Regions from separate parts of the Homo sapiens genome. Here regions 1 and 2 are each linked to region 3. Evidence: promoter capture Hi-C in 16 types of primary human blood cells and fetal thymus (Javierre and others, 2016). All regions are on one chromosome and are shown on one strand. Each heading gives the region's core, a stretch centred on a gene start or on the middle of the fragment in contact. The rest is flanking DNA. Distances are from core to core; before and after follow the strand shown.

Region 1 (3,446 bases), core at 848-3,347, 980 kb after region 3:
CAGCGTTGCTACTCTGTCCCCTCCCCAAGCCTGAGTATTCCTTTTCTCTTTCTACAGGTGTACTGGGTAGGCCCAATCATTGGAGGGGGTCTGGGCAGCCTCCTGTACGACTTTCTTCTCTTCCCCCGGCTCAAGAGTATTTCTGAGAGACTGTCTGTCCTCAAGGGTGCCAAACCCGATGTCTCCAATGGACAACCAGAGGTCACAGGGGAACCTGTTGAACTGAACACCCAGGCCCTGTAGAAGCTCCAGCTGAATAGAGGGAGTAGAAAGCTTCTGAGTTTACGTGGAGGGGTTTAGCCAGCCCCTAGATGAAGAAAGAGACTGTGGGGAGGGTCATGTACTTCTTTATTTTTTAACTTATGTATGTGGTTGTTTTTTTTTTTTTTTTCCTTTTGCTGTGTGAAATCTTTCAAGTTGCATTCATGAGCTGGTTGGTGCAAACTTCCCTTCCTCCCCATCCCACCACCCTTCGCCGTGTGTGCTGATTGTGCATATGAATGTGAGTGTGGCTGTGTCTGAGTTTTGGGGCATGAGAGCTAAGGAAGCAAAAAGAGGTGCCATCCTATACCTCCCTTCCTCGACCCAGTATGGTGAGTACTGGGTAACCGACACCTTAAGTTTCTGGCCTTTACCCTGCTGCCAGTCAAGTGTGTGGCTCTTGATTTCTGAGGGAACAGAGAAGCAGGGAGTTACTCCTCACACGAGGCAGATGGAGAGAAGTGGAGGAGACAAGGCTTCCAAGGGTTAGGAGAAGGGACTCAAGGGAGGTGGGTGGTGAAAACGGAGTATTAGCCCCAGATCAGGATGTAGGTGTACCGAAGAATTGGGGGGAAGTTAATGGGAATATATAGCCTACTTATCTTAGGGATGCTTGCCCCAGGGACTTGGGTGGGGAAGTAGCTCTGAGAAAAGTGAACACTAGGATTTAGCTGTTCTGTAAAGCCACGTAAACCTGTCTACATCCGCTGGCTGGTTGTGTTCATTCTGACATAATGGATCTCTTCAGAGGTCCTGGGCCAAAGAGCTTCCAACCTAAATAGAGCTTGGGCAAGCCTAGAATCTAGAAAAATTAAGCAGCTTAACTGGTCAGCCTGACATCCACTGTTGTGGCTGCCTGGCAGATGGTATTTAAGCCCCACAATTGTTCCCTAAGGCCAACACAGGAAATCTGATTCCTGGAGCAAATAAATGAACGGGTGGTAGTAGGGGGCATGAGGGGAGAGGCTTTGACTCTGTTCTAATTTATTTAGAGCAAATCAAAACACTCCTCAAATGGCATCTTTCTGCTTTTATCACTAGTTCCGTGTTTTTTTTCTTGTTTTGTGTCTGTGTATTTTCATTTCTCTGTCATCCGTCCTTTCATCTTGAAGCAAATCTCTTCTAACTCCCTCATACCCCAGAAATTGATTCCTTCTATTCAAATGCTTAATAATTCAGGAGATTATTATTTGTTTGAGCCCTATCTTCTTTTTTTTTTTGAGAGGGGGTCTTACTATGTTGACCAGGTTGGAGTGCAATGGATATTCACAGGCACGATCATCGCACACTACAGTCTAGAAATCCTGGGCTCAAGCGATCTTCCTGCTTCAGCCTCCCCAGTAGCTGGGATTACAGGGGGCCAGAGCACAGCCCTATTTTCTTTTCCTTTTGGCAAGATCATCTCAGCAGAGGCCAGAAGAGACCCTCAACTGTTCAATGAATATTTACGGTTGCTTTCTTCCTTTTATGAGCCTCTTGCATACTTTGAAAGCTTTAAATTTATACCTATAATACAACGGACATCCCCTATCCCAGAAGACCATTCCTCCCTGTACTTCAGCTCTTTACTTCCTCCCAAATAAAACCTAACTTTTCTAACTAACTATTTAAGACTTGGAATAGTCCGCTTGACTAGAAGAAGGGGAAGAATGTTTGTAAATTCACCTCTAATCGGACTTTGATTCTACTATAATTCAGCAGAAAATTCATAGCGCTGTGATTTTTAGATCGACCTCACATAAAACAGTCCCTGCACTCGCTTCCCTTTTCCTTCCTTCTTCACCAATCTCCGCCCCAGTTCGCTCGGAGTCACGTGGACCAGCCCGGCTCGCCCCGCCTCGCTCTTCGCGCAGGCGGGGACCGGTCCAGCTGAGCCTGGTGGCGGAAAGGCTGCGGCCCCGCGCCAGAGGGCCGGTGGCTCCTCCGGGCTTCTGAGGACCCGCAGGGAGCGGGTGAGTGAGTGTGTGGCGAGAGGGCGCTAAGCGGACACGGGGATCCTTTCGAAGCTATGGGGGCATTCTCGGGAAACGCTGAGTCCCTTTTCCCGCCACCCGGTTTAGAGCCAGGGGGCGGGGCTCGTGCTGCAGGCGCGCACGCGCAATTCTGTACTCTGCTCCTTAGTCTCCCGCGCCGCGTTCCCGGGTCTCACCGGACGCGGGCTTAGCCCTACGCTGCTCCGCACAGCTTGGGTCTCCCGCGGGATGGGGTTGTGATGGAAAGGGGCTTGGAATTCCTGAATTAGAACAGAAAGTGCCTGAGGGAGTTCCACTTCGGAGCTTAGCATCTAGTTGAGACCTCCTGAAAAAAACCGGTGTGTGGCCTGGCGGTCAGCAGTGGTCGGAATTCACAGGCCGCTTTACTTATATCGTGGGTTTTATGGAACGGATTTCTCACTCCCTCCCTTCGTTGCCTTGTTCGGGTTTGTCACCTGGACCTCAGCCGCTAATGAAGCTTTTTTCCTTGAGCCTCTCAATTCTTTGCCATTCGTGCTTCGACTAGTACTTTCAATTTTTTATTTATTTTATTTTATTTTGAGACGGAGTCTCGTTCTGTCGCCCAGGATGGAGTGCAGTGGCGCCATCTCGGCTCACTGCAACCTCCGCCTCCCGGGTTCAAGCGATTCTCTTGCCTCAGCTTCCTGAGTAGCTGGGATTACAGGCGCGCGCCACCATGCCCGGCTAATTTTTGTATTTTTTTTAGTAGAGATGGGGGTTTCACCTTATTGGTCAGGATGATCTCAAACTCCTGACTTCGTGATCCGCCCGCCTCGGCCTCCCAAAGTGCTGGGATTATAGGCGTGAGCCACCGCGCCTGGCCTGTTTGTTTTTTTTGGTTGTTTTGTTTTGTTTTGTTTTTGAGATGGAGTCTGGCTCTGTCGCCCAGGCTGGAGTGCAGTGGTCCGATCTCGGCTCACTGCAACCTCCGCCTCCCCAGTTCAAGCGATTCTCCTGCCTCAGCCTCCCCAGGAGCTGGGATTACAGCTGCCCGCCACCACGCCCGGCTAATTTTTGTATTTTTAGTAGAGATGGGGTTTCACCATGTTGGCCAGGCCGGTCTCGAACTCCTGACCTCAAATGATCCGCCCGCGTCGGCCTCCCACAGTGCTGGGATTACGGGTGTGAGCCACCACACCCGGCCCTACTAGTACTTTGTACAAAGTAAAGGTAGATCATCTGATGTTAAAT
Region 2 (3,506 bases), core at 990-3,489, 910 kb after region 3:
AAATACGTGAAACCTCTAATAGGGAAGCAATTCATTTTGGGAATTCATTTTATTTTAATGAGTTCTGGGTAACCTGAGAGAACTAGGAGGGAAAAAAATCAGGAAAGAAATTTTCACATGGTACTCTACAAGGTTTGAAAAGAATAAAGACATGTGAAATATTTCCCTTTCAAATATATACGTATAATATATAATGTATTATCTATACATATATTTGATAAAGGGATGTCAGTATATGTACATATAAACATATATTGATAACCAACAAATGTGTATAAACTCATATTTCATTTCTTTTTGAGATGGAGTCTTGCTCTGTCACCCAGGCTGGAGTGCAGTGGCACAATCCTGGCTCATTGCAACCTCTGTCCCCCAGGTTCAAGTGATTCTCCTGCTTCAGCCTCCTGAGTAGCTGGGATTACAGGCGCGTGCCACCAAGCCCAGCTAATTTGGGGTTTCACCATGTTGACCAGGCTGGTCTCGAACTCCTGACCTCAAGTGATCCACCCACCTTGGCCTCCCAAGTGCTGGGATTACAGGCATAAGCCACCATGCCCAGCCTCATTTCTTTTTTAAAGTAAATTTTATTGTGTATATTTAAGGTATACAACATGTTACGGGATACATATAGATAGTAGAAAGGTTACTATAGTGAAGTAAATTAATCATCCCACATAATTGTCCCTTTTGTTTCTTTTTGTGGCAAGAGGAGCTAAAGTCTGCTCATTTAGCATGAATCCCATATACAGTACAACTTTATCATCTATAGTCCTCATGTTGTACATTGGATCTCAGGATTTGTTCATCCTACATATCTACTACTTTGTATCCTCTGACCTATAGCTCCCCATTTCCTCTCCCCTCTACCCATATTTCTTCAGGATATAAACAAAATGAGTACCACACAGACTAAGCCCATAAATCAACATTAAGTGTTTTGGGTCTAAACATTTACCCACTGCATTGATCAGACACTTGTGTTTAAATCCACCTCTAATGGTCTCATTAGGTACATGAGAAAGCAGCAGGAATCGTTCCTCACCCTCCAACATTCCATTAGATGAGCAAAAGATTCCCTAAATGTCTATGTCACATTTTTTCTTCAAAGAACAGCTACAACACAAAGAGAGGGTAAAGAGTCTTCTTCCTGCTACAGCATGAAATTCCTCCTAATCAGTATGCTGTGCGCCCTGAAATGCCAGAAACTGCCAAATATATTCCTTGTCAAATATGGACAAGATTGTCCATCTCTCCCCATGTGCCCAAGGACAGCACAATTCTCTGGCAGCCATGGGTTAATCATAAAGACTCCTAGGATCACTGCAAAGTCTGGCTATCTGCAGAGGTCCAAGTATCAGTTCAAATACAAGATCCAAAGTATCACAGCGCTCTGTGCCTTAATCCCAAGGTGCGATGTCTCTCAAGACTCCTTCTCTATAGGCTGGGTGGGGTAGGATCTGTAGTCTAGAAGAGTATACCCAGCTCTTGATAAACTGTTGTGGTTTCTCTGACTATCTATGATTTCAGCTATCTAATACTACTGGTGGTATGGGTAGGAGGGAAGGTTGGGGAGAGAATGGAAACAGTTAATCAAAAAATAAAATAATCTTGTGGGGTGGGGTGGACTGGGGGACAGGGTCTGAAATGACATATTATCCTTGTGGAGATTGATACATCAGCAGGAAGTCAAACTAACTTCATTTCATAAGGATACAAACTTGCAAGCTTGATTTGTTTTTAATTCCCCTGTCTTTTCAGGCCTCGCAGAGACTGAAAGTTCCCTGAACTCCAGAACCAGTTGAGGAAAGATGCAGAAAGCAGTAGTGGAAAAGGGAGAAGCGCGGTGAGGAATTAGGAATCTTGAGAGAGGAAGCCCCTTCCCCTCTTTAAAAAGAATGTAAAAACCAAGGGCATTGCAAGATCCCCAGAAAAAGAAGTAGCTAGATACCAAAAAAGCGCTTTTCCCTACCTTCTTGTTGTTTCTATTGTAGCCAAAAGTCGAAATCCCGGGCCTGGAAGTCACGGATAGCAGCATTTTCTCTTTAATGTTAGGGAACGAGCGAGAGAGAGAGAGAGAGAGAAAGGGAGGGGGTAAGAAAGACGGGGAGGGAGGGAGGAGGGGAGCGAGGGAAAGGGGGAGAGGGAGGGAGGAAAAAAGGGAGGGGGAGGAGAAAGGAGGAGAAAAGGAGCAGGAGGAGAGAGATGAAGGGGGGCTGCGGGCAGAGAATGAGCTCGGGCTGCTCCTTTACGTCACTGAGAGAAGTTAACAGAGTCTGAATGAGGCAGAGGCACTTCCACTGGGTCCTAATGCCCAAGATGTTTTTTTTTGTTTGTTTTTCATAGTCTCAGGAGTTAAAGCTAGAAAGAAGAGTTCTTAGGTCTAACCCCTTTCAAATTTATCCCCTTTCCTCTATGAACAAGTTCCGATTCTCATATAAAGACAATGAGGGCTTTATTTCCACCCTTAGATCTCAGCTATAAGATTTCAAGCTTGATTTTAAAGGGGCTCCTGAGACATTGCCTTGGAGAACACGCAAAAAAAAAAAAAAAAAAAAACAGAGTTAGAGTGTGTGAGATAAGCTCAGGGCTTCCCCTACTTTACACTTACAGTGATTTTTTTTTTTTTTTTTTGAGACAGAGTTTTAGTCTGTCACCCAGGCTGAAGTGCAGTGGTGCAATCCCGGATCCGGCTCACTGCAACCTCCACCTTCCGCAATTCTCCTGCCTCAGCCTCTCGAGTAGCTGGGATTACAGGTGACCACCACCACACCCAGCTGATTTTTGTATTTTTTAGTAGGGACGGGGTTTCGCCATCTTGGCCAGGCTGGTCTCGAACTCCTGACCTCAAGTGATCCACCCACTCAACCTCCCAAAGTGCTGGGATTACAGGCATGAGCCACCACCCCTGGCCCATTTATAGTGATCTTAATGTACAAAGGAACAAACAGAGGAACACACCAAAGAGCAGAGCTAAGCAAAACAGAGTATGGGGTATAACTAGTTTCAGATCCTTAGATGTGTTTCTCTTGGGTCATACCAATGGGCTGATGCCCCTCACTCCTATTTCAGATTCTCCGAGGAATGAGTTCATACTTAAGAAGGAATTATCAGACTGGACTATATCATGAAACTTGGTGCCTTGTTATTTCTCTAACAATTGCAGGCTATCTTATTTAACACTTTACCCTGCTATTTCCTCATCTTTAAGATCCATGAAACTGAAACAATTACAGTAACTCACCAAACCTGGAGTTTATGTCTAAATTGAAGTCTACAGTTGGGATGTCTGCTTTGAGTTGTCTTTGAGCTGTTTAAAAAAAAAAAATACTTAAGAAGCATATGCTTCAACAGAATAAAAACACAAAATTCTTAGGAAGGAATACAAATTTCAGAGTCAAGAACCTAATAGAGTTGCAACACTTACCTCTACTAGTTTCCAAAGAATGTCTTTGTAGGCGTAACCTTAACAAGAAAGGAAACCAAAAACTTAAGAATGATATCCAGTA
Region 3 (4,021 bases), core at 320-2,819:
TACTAACAATAGATGTAGAATGCTACACATTTTATATTGTACTTACATACACATAATACAAATATTAGCTATTATTTCCTACTGGTCATCACTGCCTGGTCTGGAACTCCTGAGCTCAAATGATCCACCTGCCTTGGCCTCCCAAAGTGCTAGGTGTGAGCCACTGCGCCCGGCCAAGACAAAAAGTTTAAATCGTGGTGAAAAGTGGCAGGTTAGATCAGTTCAGTTCAGTTGTATTTTTCTTCCCCCGTTGTTGTTCTCTAGAGGGTTGAGAGAATTTGGGGGCAGGAGGCAGTGATGACCAGGAGAGAGGGCTGGGCAAGGTGGCTCACACCTGTAATCCCAGAACTTTGGAAGGCCGAGGCGGGTGGATCACCTGAGGCCAGGAGTTCGAGATTAGCCTGGCCAACATGGCAAAACCCCGTCTCTACTAAAAATACAAAAAATAGCCGGGTGTGATGGTGCGTGCCTGTAGTCCCAGCTACTCCGGACGCTGAGGCAGGAGAATCACTTGAACCTGAGAGGTGAAGGTTGTAGTGAACCGACATTGCACCACTGCAATCTAGTTGCCTGGGTGACAAAGCGAGACCCCATCTCAAAATAAATAAAACAAACAAACAAACAAACAAAAAACGCCAACCAACCTGGAACTTGCTCATCCTTGAAGGAAAGATGAACTTCATGCCTCTATGACTTTGCTGGAATCTCCATTCTTACCTCTCTAGTGAACTATTTATAGTCTCAAGATTAGCTGGAGTTTCACCTGTAGTTTCTCTGTAACTTACTCAATCTCTTTTACCGCTAAGAACGAATTGCTGTTCCTTGTGTTTCCATAGCACATTTAAACCTTTCTATTATAGCACTTAAATTGTACTATAATTATTTGACTTTTTTTGCCTACCGCAGTTTCTGTCACAAGGTAAATATTTAATGGTCGAATTCTACAAAAGACTACATTGCTTCTTTGAGGGAGTTTGGTCAGTAAATTATCCACACACACATAATCAATAACTAAATTGATTCTGCCTAGAATGGACAAAACGGGGGAGGCTGGACATTTAAGACGATTTTTGAGAACTGTATCTTAGAGAGGGGATGATGGTAAGAATGTGATCTTAATAGGACAGACTGAGTTCCTCCTAGGTCGGTTTTTTTCATCTTTACGTAAAATGGACATTTACCTGCTCAACTATAGTTATCCACGTATGCAACAAATACCGAGTGTACGTTCTTTTGGTACAGGAGTTACTGCCCTAAGTGAAAGTGCTCTGTAAATGGAAATTACTTTAGAATGATCACTATTAGTATTATATTGAAATCCAGGGTATTCTATCTGACAGACTTGAAGGGTTTAAGGAGGACCGAGGCTCCCAGTGACTCCGGATTGGTGTCCTGACACAGGTAACGCGGAAGGAGGAGAGGGCGAGCGAGCGAGTGCGAGTGCGCGCGCGCCGGCGGGAGTGCGTGCGGCAGGCGGTAGGCCCCGCAGGGCTGCTGAGGGGCACGCGGGAAGCCAGGAAGCAGGGACGGCCGGAACGCAGGACGAGGTGACGACAACGCCGGACGTAGTGACGTAGCGCGCAGCCGCAGCGGGGGGCGGACTCTGGGCTTTTCTTCCCCTTCTGATTTTCCCCTCCCCCCTTTTCTCCCTTTCCGGGTTTGGTTCCCCCCTTTTCTTCCCCTCTCCCCCCTCCTTCCCAAGCCCCTTTCCCCTCCCCCGTCCCAGTCCCCCCTGCTTCCCAGCCCTCGGCCCCGGGGAAGCCCCGGCCGAGAAAAGCCCGCCCCCAGAAGCGCGCCGCCGCCGGCCGTCGGGGCCGAGCCGCAGCCGAGCGGCCGTGGGCCCGGGCGGCGGGCGGAGACGTGGGCGCCCTCCCCGCCAAGGCCCGTGCGAGGTGAGGCCACCTCCCGGCCGAGGGGGCGGGCGGCCCGGACGGCCTGTGGGGAGGGGGCGTGGCGGCCGCACGGGCGGGCGCGAGGAGGCCCCGCGGCCTGGGTTCCTCGCGCCCGGCAGCCGGTCCCGGGGACGATGGGTCAGGGTCGGATGGCCGCGGGAAGGACTGCTCCAAGTGTGCGCTGCTGGAGAGAAGCTGGGGGCGCGGGGCGGAGGGCGGCGGTGCGGGGGCAGGGGGGTGGCGCCACCTGTGGCCTTTGCGGGGTGACCTAAAAACTATTGCGCCCTTCCAGTGCTTCGGGGTGGCTAGCTCCGTGTGTTTCTTGGGTGGCGGTTTTCCTTCGAGCGTGGAGCATGGAAAAATAGGACGGAGAGGTGTAGAAGTGTTTAAAATCATGCTGGTGTCCAGGTTTCTTACAGGGACGGGGATTTGAGTTGGCACATACAGGGAGATGTTTCTATAGCTTAAAACTTGGGCCTACACTAAGCTCATAACTACTCGAGCCCCTGAAAACGCTTCGATTCGTTTTCCCGTAGAGCTAACATTTTTCAACATTTGTGGCCATTAAGTCTCGGAACTACCAGGAATACTGACTTAGAGTGAATTGTCATTGGATAATGATGAGAAATGACCGAATAACAATCCCAGAACTGCGTTAAAACGGAAGAAAGAAAAGTGGAAAAGTTTGAATTCAGATCCCAGTTGGATGAATATCCTTGTACATAATGTTGTTCAAATAGATAACTAAGATTGAGAAGCCTGAGTCCTGTCTGATATGCGTAAGCCACGTGGAGACTCAAGGAAGGAGGAAAGTGACAGGTTTCACTTCAGGAATATCACAAATTCCTAGCATTTTCTTGTATTTTTAGATAGATTTGCAGTTGAATTATTTGTGGCTCTTCTTCCTAATGCTTTTTTTTGTTGTTGTTCCACCAATATTCCCCCCCCACCCCCGCCCCCCTTTTTGTTGCTGGGGTATCAAGACAAAAGGTTGTATTTTGTTTTTTGAGACAGGGTCTCAGTCTGTCACCCAGAATGGAGTGTAGTGGTTCCTTTTCGGCTCAATGCAACCTCTGCCTCCTGGCCTCAAGCCGTCCTCCTACCTCAGTCCCCCAAGTAGCTGGGAGTACAGGCATGAGCCACCACTCCTGGCTGATTTTTGTAGAGACGGGTTTCACCTTGCTGCCCAGGCTGGTCTGGAACTCCTGGGCTCAAGTGATCCACCTGCCTTGGCCTCCCAAAGTGGTAGGCTTGAGCCACCGCGCCGGGAAAGACAAAAAGTTTAAATAGTGGTGAAAAGTGGCCGGTTAGATTAATTCAGTTCAGTTTTTAGTTGTATTTTTCTTACCCTGTTGCTGTTCTCCAGAGAGTTGAGAGAAAAGATAACTTTTTTCTTGAAGGCCTGATGAACTCCTAACAAGTTAAATTTCAGAGTTGAAGTTCCATTTGTCTTTGTGTCCATTATATGATTAGTAGAGCTTCACAATTTTTTTTTCGTAGGGATGGGATCTTGCTATGTTGCCCAGGCTGGTTTTGAACTCCTGGCCTCAAGTGATCCTCTGGCCTCAGACTCCCAAAAGCACTGGGATTACAGGCGTGAGCCATTGCTCTTGGCAGAGCTTCACAATGTAAAGTTTTAAAAAAATTTGACAAATAAAAATAGCATGCCTGACTGGCCGGGCACGGTGGCTCATGCTGTAATCGCAGCACTTTGGGAGGCGAAGGCAGGTGGATCACCTGAGGTCAGGAGTTTGAGACCAGCCTGGCCAACATGGTGGAACCCCGTCTCTACTAAAAATACAAAAAGTAGCCAGGCGTGGTGGCAGGCACCTGTAATCTCAGCTTCTTGGCAGGCTGAGGTGGGAGAATCATTTGAACCCAGGAGGCGGATTTTGCAGTAAGCCAAGATCGTGCCACTGTACTCCAGCCTAGGCAACAGAGCGAGAGACTGTCTCAAAAAAAAAAAAAAAATAATAGCATGCCTAATATTTTTTAATGGAAAATTAAGACAGGAGATGGCTTCCTTTCTCTTTCAAAATAAAAACCAATGTTACTTTTTGTTGTTGTTGTTCTTTCTCGCTATGTCACCCAGGGTGGAGCGCAGTGGTGCAATCTCGGCTCACTGCAAG

Evidence for each region. The method cuts DNA at HindIII sites, captures the fragments that hold promoters and counts their contacts. A CHiCAGO score of 5 or more calls a contact.
Region 1: a contact is called between the fragment with the promoter of TIMELESS here and the fragment with the promoter of R3HDM2 in region 3, in 5 of 17 cell types (monocytes, fetal thymus, non-activated CD4 T cells and 2 more). The highest score is 12.1, in monocytes.
Region 2: the fragment with the promoter of RBMS2 here is called in contact with the fragment with the promoter of R3HDM2 in region 3 in 8 of 17 cell types (total B cells, naive CD8 T cells, activated CD4 T cells and 5 more); the score reaches 12.1 in total B cells.

The regions. Positions count from the first base shown.
Region 1 is chr12:56,448,077-56,451,522 of GRCh38, reverse strand. TIMELESS (timeless circadian regulator) reads left to right here and starts at 2,097. Exons shown (of 29, transcript NM_003920.5): 1 at 2,097-2,213. MIP (major intrinsic protein of lens fiber) reads left to right here. Exons shown (of 4, transcript NM_012064.4): 4 at 58-2,021. The coding sequence ends at 243. RefSeq lists enhancers at 2,354-2,443, 2,554-2,673, 2,696-3,216. The HindIII fragment of the contact is 959 bases long and covers 1,756-2,714 here.
Region 2 is chr12:56,520,553-56,524,058 of GRCh38, reverse strand. RBMS2 (RNA binding motif single stranded interacting protein 2) reads right to left here and starts at 2,239. Exons shown (of 14, transcript NM_002898.4): 1 at 1,970-2,239. The coding sequence starts at 2,035. RefSeq lists an enhancer at 1,061-1,804. The HindIII fragment of the contact is 765 bases long and covers 1,728-2,492 here.
Region 3 is chr12:57,428,591-57,432,611 of GRCh38, reverse strand. R3HDM2 (R3H domain containing 2) reads left to right here and starts at 1,569. Exons shown (of 24, transcript NM_001394031.1): 1 at 1,569-1,892. It overlaps R3HDM2-DT (R3HDM2 divergent transcript), which reads right to left and starts at 1,496. Exons shown (of 2, transcript NR_185976.1): 1 at 1,182-1,496. RefSeq lists a silencer at 1,668-2,137 and an enhancer at 2,318-2,427. The HindIII fragment of the contact is 10,065 bases long and covers 1-4,021 here.